2 separate regions of the Homo sapiens genome follow, and region 1 is linked to region 2. The links are contacts of gene promoters, found by promoter capture Hi-C in human tissues and cell types (Jung and others, 2019). All regions are on one chromosome and are shown on one strand. The core of a region is centred on a gene start or on the middle of the fragment in contact, and the rest is flanking DNA. Distances in the headings are between cores, read along the strand shown.

Region 1 (4,271 bases), core at 1,260-3,759, 180 kb after region 2:
CGGTAAAACCTAGTTTAGGGCTTCCAAAACCCAAGAAAGTGAATAAATCTAAAAATGGTAACAAACCCATGTGCAGGTCAGTGGTTCCCAAGTGTTTGCTTTCAACAAAATTGGAAGAAGGCCTTCTAGATTTGGCAACTATCACAGGTTGAATTGTGTCCCCCCAAGTATATTTGTTGAAGTCTTATACTCTAGCATCTCAGAATGTGACCTTATTTGGAGACAAGGTCCTTACAGAGGTAATCAAGTTCAAATGAGGCCAATAGGATGGGTCCTAATCCAATATAACTGGTGTCCTTGTGGAAAGGGGCAATCAGGACACACACACAGAGAACATCATCTGAAAACAAGGCAGAGATGGGGTGATGTTTCTACAAGTCAAGGAATGCCAAAGATTGCCAGCAACTGACTAGAAGCTAGGTGAGAAGCATGGAACAAATTCCTTCTGTAGCCCTCAGAAGGAACACACCCAGCTGACACCTTGATCCTGAACTTCTAGCTTCTAGAACTGTGAGGCAATAAATTTCTTTTGTTGAAGCCACCTAGTTTGTGGTACTTTGTTAAAACAGCCCTGGCAAACTAATACAGCAACTAATAGATCATTAAAATTAATTTTTGATGATAGATAACATTGTCTCCCTCCCTCCCTGCCTCCCTCCCTTCCTTCCTTCCTTCCCTCCTTCCCGCTCTCTTTCTCTCTCTCTTTTTCCCTTTCTCCCTTTCTCTCTCTCTCTCTCTTTCTCCCTTGGAGAAAGGGTCTTGCACTTTCGCCCAGGCTGGAGTGCAGTGGAGTCACTGCAGCCTCAACCTCCTGGGCTCAAACAGTCCTCCCACCTCAGCCTCCCAAGTAGCTGGGACTATGGGTGCACACCATCATACCTGGCTAAATTTTTGTAGAGATGGGGGTTCACCATGTTGCCCAGGCTGGTCTTGAACTCCTGGACTCAAGGAATCCATCCATCCACCTTGGCCTCCAAAATGCTGGGATTACAGACGTGAGCCACTGCACCTGGTTCATGCTTTTGTCTTTTTGAAAAAAAAAGGAAAAAGTTAAAAGATTTAGTGATTCTGCTGTAACAAAGCCAACTATTTATTTATGGAGACAAAATTTCTCAGTACTTACATTGTATGACAAACAAAAGCAAAACAAAATTAATACTGAACTCTGTCTCATTCTAGCAATCAATAAATAAAATAAATCCTGTTATTTTATGGGTTCATTAATTAATTGGACCACAAAATTCATTTGTGGGGGGTCCATTTCATTAAGAGCTGAATTTTCCCCCAAAATTATGTTTTAAAAAGCTTTTTTTGAGATAATTGTAGATTGACATGCACATACAAGAAAGGGTACAGAGAATTCCATACCCTTCACCCAGTTTCCCCTAACAAAGGTTACTTTTATATTTATTTATTTATTTTTAGAGACAGAGCATTCTTCTGTTGCCCAGGCTGGAGTGCAGTGGTGTGATCTGGGCCCACTGCAACCTCCGCCTCCTGGATTCAAGTGAGTCTCTTGCTTCAGCCTCCCTAGTAGCTGGGATTACAGGCACCCGCCATCATGTCTGGCTAATTTTTGTATTTTTAGTAGAGACAGGATTTCACCATGTTAGCCAGGCTGGTCTCAAACTCCTGAACTCTAGTAATCTGCCTGCCTCGGCCTCCCAAAGTGCTGGGATTACAGGTGTGAGCCACCATGCCTGGCCAAAGGTTACTTTTAATGTTCATTAATTTTGAAGACTTGCAGTTTATTTATGCTATAAAGGACAATTGTGCACTATTAATAGTCGCAATGATGACATAATCTAAGACTTTTAATATTTAGAAACTTATGGTTGCAGGAAATTAAAAATTCATCTCATGTGCTTTTTTGGCAGAGAAGTATGAAATATTGATCAATATAAGGTCCTTAAGCATATGCACCTATTAAACTTTTATGGAGGAAGTAGAATAGAATTCATAAGTCCATTTGTTTTTACTCTTTATTTTTTTGAGACAGAGTCTCACTCTGCCGCCCAGGCTGGACCGCAGTGGCACAATCTCCACTCACTGCAACCTCTGCCTCCTTGGTTCAAGTGATTCTCGTGTCTCAGCCACCTGAGTAGCTGGGATTGCTACTCAGGTGTGCACCACCACACCCGACTAATTTTTGTATTTTTAGTAGAGATGGGATTTCACCCCTTTGGCCAGGTTGGTCTTGAACTCTTGGCCTCAAGTGATCTGCCTGCCTTGGCTTCCCAAAATGCTGGGATTACAGGTGTGAACCATCGCGCCTGGCCTAGAATTCATAAGTTTAAGGAGAAAAAGGAGTGATGAAAAATTTCCAAAAGTTAAGAACTTTTTCTTGTATTTTAAAAATGAGTGACGGTTGAAACAAAATTGATATATTATTTATGTGCTATTAGAAATAATTAAAAAGAATAAGGTTTTCTTTTTTAAAAATCAACATTTACTTTGGAAATTATGTCCTTTATAGTGATGAAAAATGTTTGATGTCAAGTTAAAAGTGAGTAAAGAAGTACATTCATTTTATAACAGCATTTTTCACAGTAGCTAAAATGTGGTAGCAACCCAAGTGTTTATTACTGGATGAATAGATAAACAAAATGTGGACTCAGGCATCTCTCTTCTGGGCTCATACCCAAAGGAAATGAAATCACCACCTCACCAAGGTATCTGTACTCCTGTGTTTATTGTAGCATTATTCATAATAACCAAGATATGGAGACAACCTAGACAACCATCAATGGACGAATGGTTTAAGAAATTGTGGTACGGATATATACAAGGGAATTCAGCCTTAAAAAAGGAGGAGATAGCATTTGCCATAACCTAGACGGGCCTGGAGGACATTATGCTAAATGAAAGAAGCCAGACACAGAAAAAAAATATTGCACGATCTTACCTGTATGTGGAATCTTTTATTTATTTATTTTCTTAGACGGAGTCTCACTCTGTTGCCCACGCTGGAGTGCAGTGGCGCAATTTTGGCTCACCGCAACCTCTGCCTCCTGGGTTCAAGTAATTCTCCTGCCTCAGCCTCCTGAGTAGCTGGGACTACAGGCACCTGCCACCACACCTGGCTAATTGTATTTTTAGTAGATATGGGGTTTTGCCATGTTGGCCAGGCTGGTCTCAAACTCCTGACCTCAGATGATCCACCTGCCTTGGCCTCCCAAAGTGCTGGGATTACAGGTGTGAGCTACCATGCCTGGCCTGTGGAATCTTTTAAAAAGGTCAAATATATAGAGAATAAAACAGTGGTTATCAAGATTGGAGTAGGAGAGAGGAAATGGGCAGATGTAGGCCTAAGGATACGAAGTAGCAAACATATAGGATGAACAAGTCAAATAAAGTACAATATGAAGACTACAATTAATAATAGCATATTATTCCAGGATTTTTGCTAGATGAGCATAGTTGCTTTTGCTACAGGAGGAAATAAATGGGTAACTAAGTGAGATGATGCATAAGTCAATTTGTTTCACTATAGTATCCATTCTACTAAATATGTGTGTCTTATACCATGATGTTGTATATACCTTATATATACACAATAAAATTTATTTAAACAAACAAAATGTGGTATATACATAGAGTGGAATATTATTCAGCCTTAAAAAGGAAGTTCTGACACATGCCACAATATGGATGAATCTTGAGGATATTATGCTAAGTGAATTAAGCCAGTCACAAAAAACCAAATACTGTATGATTCTATGTATTTGAGGTATTTAAAGTAGTCAAAATAATAGAGACAGAAAGTAGAATGGTGGTTGGGACAGGCTGGGGAGAGGGAGGAGTGGGAGTTATGTTTAACGGTTATAGAGTTTTAGTTTTTCTAGATGAAAAGAGTTAGAGAGAAGGATGGTGGTGAAGGTTGCACAACAATGTGCATGAACTTAATACCACTGAACTGTACACTTAAATGTTAAAATGGTAAGATTGTTATGTGTATTTTGCCACAATAAATTAGTATTATTATTTTTTTTAGAGACAGAGTCTAGCTCTGTCAACCAGGTTGAGTGCATTGGTGTGATAACAGCTCACTGCAGCCTCCAACTCTTGAGCCCCCAACTCCTGGCCTCAAGCAGTCCTCCTGCCTCAGCCTCCCAAAGTGCTGAGATTACAGGGGTGAGCCATTCACTGTTCCTTGCTAAATCTTTTTTTTTTTTTTTTTTTTTTTTTTGAGACAGAGTCTCGCTCTGTCACCCAGGCTGGAGTGCAGTGGTGCGATCTCAGCTCGCTGCAAGCTCCACCTCCTGGGCTTA
Region 2 (3,992 bases), core at 8-2,507:
AGGTCGTCCCCTCTCCCAGGTGGAGGGGACCCTAGGGGAAGCCCGATACTCGCCTGACTTTTCCACCAGCTCCCGGACATCCTTCTTCTCGGGCAACCCTGAGTAGCCCAACCCCCGGCACTCCAAAATGGTCTTCAGCTTCTTGAAGCTCAGCGCCACCGGATCCACCAGCTGGGTGGCAAAGATGCCAGTTTCATACCACACAATGGCCTCAAAAAACCTGGCCAGGACGAACAGGACCAGGAAATAGAGGAGCAAGAAAAAAAGCTTCAGCCACATCTTCCCTGGAGTTTCCTCTCTTTCCAGAGAGCTCGGAATACGGGAGAGAGAAGGGTCGAGGGCGGGGGCCGCGGCTCGGTGGCAGCTTGGGCGAGGGCCCCGTGTCCACGCGCGGGCCACCCGGCGCCGTCACTGGCCGGCCATCCCCGGCGGGGAAGCAGGTGACGGGATCCGCGCGGGCGCGAGGCGGCGACGAGGGACGCAGAGACGCAGAGCCTCGCGCCGGGCCTCCCAGTCAAGAGCCGACAAAAATAAAGGGGAAAAACTCAAAACCCCCATCCATTAAGCACAGAAAGGAGAGGGGCGCGGGGAGAGCTCGCGGGGAAGAACAAAACGAGGGACGCTTCCCCCGGGGCGGGCACTGACCCAGGTGGCGGGGTCGGCCCTCCGGTGCCGCGATCTCAAGGGGGAGGGGGAGACCAAAAAATAACTCAGATCCGCCCAGGAGGCGGGGATCCGGGCGGCAGGCCGGGGCCCGAGGGGCCGTGGGGGCCGGACTCCCGCGGCCGCGGGTCAGGAGGGCGCGGCGCTCGGCCGGGCCAGGCCCGGGGCCCAGCGTGTTCTGCGCGGGGAGGAGCGGCCGCCGCAACGCCGCGCCCGAAGCCCAGGCCCCAGGCCCCGCCGACCGCCCAGGCTCCGCGAGAAGAGCGGCGGGCACGGCGGCGGCTCCAGGTTCGCTCGGGCCGGCTGGCGGGCGGCGCCTCTCAGGCGGGCGGGCACTGCGGCCCGGCCCAGGATGGGGCGTCGCGGTCTCTGCAGATGGAATCGGTCTCGGAGGGAAAAAACCAATAATAGGCCCCGAGACTGCTCCTCCAGGCGGCTACCCGGCTGCCTCCCGGCCACTCAGCGCCCGTCCCGCTCGGATGGGCAGTGCCGGTCGCAGCACCCGTCCCCAACACCCCCGCCACCTCCGGAGACCGCGGCCGTACCCTCCACAACCGTGTATCAGCGGCGGCCGCGGCCGGAGCCGAGACATAACAACTGACGTCGCGATGAGGCGGGGCCGGGGCGGGGCCTGCAGGGTGCGCCCGCAGGGGCCGAGGGCGGGGAATTCGGGGAGCCGCGGGGCTACCGGACTACCGAACGAGGGGCGGGAGGAGAGGCGGAGCCGCAGCGTGGTCGGGGCCTTCCCGCGGTGCCGAAAGTTGCCTCTCCGTGCTTTTGCGGCGTGGTCTCCCCTTTTGCCCCTCCAATGTTTAGCAATTGATTTTGTCTGAGGATTAGTCTTTAGATTGTATCACTTTGTGTATTTTTTGTAAAAATAGAGCAGTTAATTATTCTCTTAAAATCGGTGAAAATAGAAATGTACGTTTTTTGATGAATCCTGGTGAACAGGGAAATTTTTGGCACAGTTGGTTTGAGATGGTAGAAGGTTAAACCCAGAAAGCAAATGTTTTGCCCCCTCTTCATGAGAATGTGGCTTTGCACATGTGTGTTGGAGGAGGTTTGGCCAAAACTGGAGTTCGCGTTATACTAGGCCCAGTTGTCGCTGCCAGTTACAGCCTTTTCCCTCCTTCAGTCTCAAGGGTGTTAAAAGCCTGGTGTGGACTCCCTGAGTTCCTAGGACAAAGATTGTCGAGTGTAGATAAGTCCAGGTGCAAAGTTCCGGGTGCTTTATTTTGTACATGGGCCTGGCACAGTGGCTCACGCCTGTAATCCCAGCACTTTGGGAGGCCGAGGCGGGCAGATCACGAGGTCAGGAGTTCGAGACCATCCTGGTTAACACGGTGAAACCCTGCCTCTATTAAAAATACAAAAAATTAGGCCGGCGTGGTGGTGGGCCCCTGTAGTCCCAGCTACTCGGGAGGCTAAGGCAGGAGAATGGCGTGAACCCGGGAGGCGGAGCTTGTAGGGAGCTGAGATCGCGCCACTGCACTCCATCCAGCCTGGGTGACATAGCAAGACTCCGTCTCAAAAAAAAAAAAAAAAAAAAAAAAAAAAAAAGAAAGAAAGAAAAGAAAAAAAAGAGTCACATGGACAAGCATGCGATACCTGGTTCTGTGCTTATAAATTTAACCGGGCCGAGCGTACTCTTTACGTCAATCTCTGTGTCAGTCTTGAGGGAGGAAGGAGTTGGGTTCATAAACTGAACAAGGTTGGCTTTGACCAGCCCCTTTTGATAAGGAAGGAAAAAAAAAACAGTAATTACGGGGAAATGTTACTATTTGTGCAAAACTGTCAACTATCTGAAACTAGGGGTGAAAGTTTTAGGAAGAAAGGGATCATGATCCCAGGTCATGGAGCAAGGGAGGAACGGGAAGCAAAGAATGGACTGTGAGAATGTAGCCTCCGAATGGTGCCCATTTAAAATAAAGTGAACAAGGGCATTTCAGTGCCGGGCTAGTGGGGGAGGAGTTGGAAGGGGATGGGCCCAGGGAGCATTGAGAATCAGAGGAGGAGGTGTAGGAATGTCCAGCCAGCAACTGGACACTGCCCCTGTGTCTTTAGCTTCCATGTGGCTTTGTTCTCGTGGCTGGCAGATCAGTGTGGGAGACTGTGTTAAACAACTGATTCTAACAAGCCTGGTTCTGAAATTTCAGAATTCTTGGGCATGTCTTGGTGACCCTTTGATGATATTGTCCAAACCTTGACACTGAAGGTGATGTCCCTCACCTCAAAGGAATGTATGTACTCGCTAGTGAGGAGAGACTGACCCAATCTCAAAAATACAGAATAGGCATGGGCAGGGAAAGTTGGTGTGTGAGCTGAGGGTGGAACCAGTCAGGCCAGAGTTCCAAATTGGAAAAAAACATTAGAGTGTGGGAGGGACTAGAAAGAAGGAATTAAAGAACTCTTTTTAAATTTCTTGTTTGTTTCAACTGCCTCCCATCCCAACCCCCTTGCTTTGTTTCATTCATGGTTAACCCACAGGAGGGATAAAAGCATTGATAAGAGAACACATTGGGTCATCTGAATAAGAGAGTATGGACAAGCACATTCTATGTTGGTGGGGTATACAATGTGGGTTAGAAGCCCCCCATAAAATACAAGCTCTTTGGCACAGTAATCTCTCTTCAGGAAATTTATCTTGAGGAATAATTGGACATGGGCACAAAGATGTGTGTATAGAATTTCGTCGTTGTTGCAGAGTTAATGCTGGAAAGAAAAAAGGAAGAACCCAAATATCTAGTGACAGAGGATTGATCAAATACAGTAATTCAAATGATGAACCATGAGGCAGCCACTAAAAAGAAAAATGTAGACACACGGTTATGGACATGGAACCATGTCCAAAATATAGTGTTTGGTGAAAAAAACCAGGTGACTGAGAAGTTTGCGTCATATGATCCTATTTTTGTATCTGTATTACAAAAAGACAGAGATGTATCCACTAAATTGTTAGGTGTATTCACCTCTAAGTGATGGGATTTAGAATATTTTTTCTTTTATGCTATATCTCTGTTTTATTATATTTTCTGAAATAATCATGTATTACTTTGTAATCTAAAAAAAAAACAACAACAACAAAACAAAACAAAAAAACCCACTAGGACTGTTTTCCTGGTCCGGAGGTTTAGCGGCAGCGGTTCATCCTCTGGGACTCCAAAGATGACAGGGGTTGGAGGTGTGGGCTGTCTTCCCATGAGATTGATTTCAGTTTCCACTAAGCCTAGCTGGGCAGACTAATTAGAATTTATTTTCAAAAACAGAAGAATGTATGAATTATTCATTTTCATAATCTGTTTTTCTAATAGGCTATTAATCTGGGTTAT

The links. The method cuts DNA at HindIII sites, captures the fragments that hold promoters and counts their contacts. A contact is called where the count stands out against the background at its distance.
Region 1: a contact is called between a fragment that was not itself captured here and the fragment with the promoter of RNF103 in region 2, in 2 of the 25 tissues and cell types used here (dorsolateral prefrontal cortex and mesendoderm cells).

Annotation. Positions count from the first base shown.
Region 1 is chr2:86,800,632-86,804,902 of GRCh38, forward strand. All of the region lies in intron 1 of LOC105374846 (a long non-coding RNA gene), which reads left to right. It also overlaps a transcript of CD8A not described here. Among named protein-coding and RNA genes, the nearest start is that of CD8A, 12 kb to the left of the region's middle. The HindIII fragment of the contact is 6,316 bases long and covers 1-4,271 here.
Region 2 is chr2:86,622,608-86,626,599 of GRCh38, forward strand. It overlaps RNF103 (ring finger protein 103), which reads right to left and starts at 1,258. Exons shown (of 4, transcript NM_005667.4): 1 at 54-1,258. The coding sequence starts at 279. The region is part of intron 2 of RNF103-CHMP3 (RNF103-CHMP3 readthrough); the gene reads right to left. RefSeq lists silencers at 79-128, 309-388, 659-1,198, 1,279-1,448 and an enhancer at 1,159-1,453. The HindIII fragment of the contact is 9,717 bases long and covers 94-3,992 here.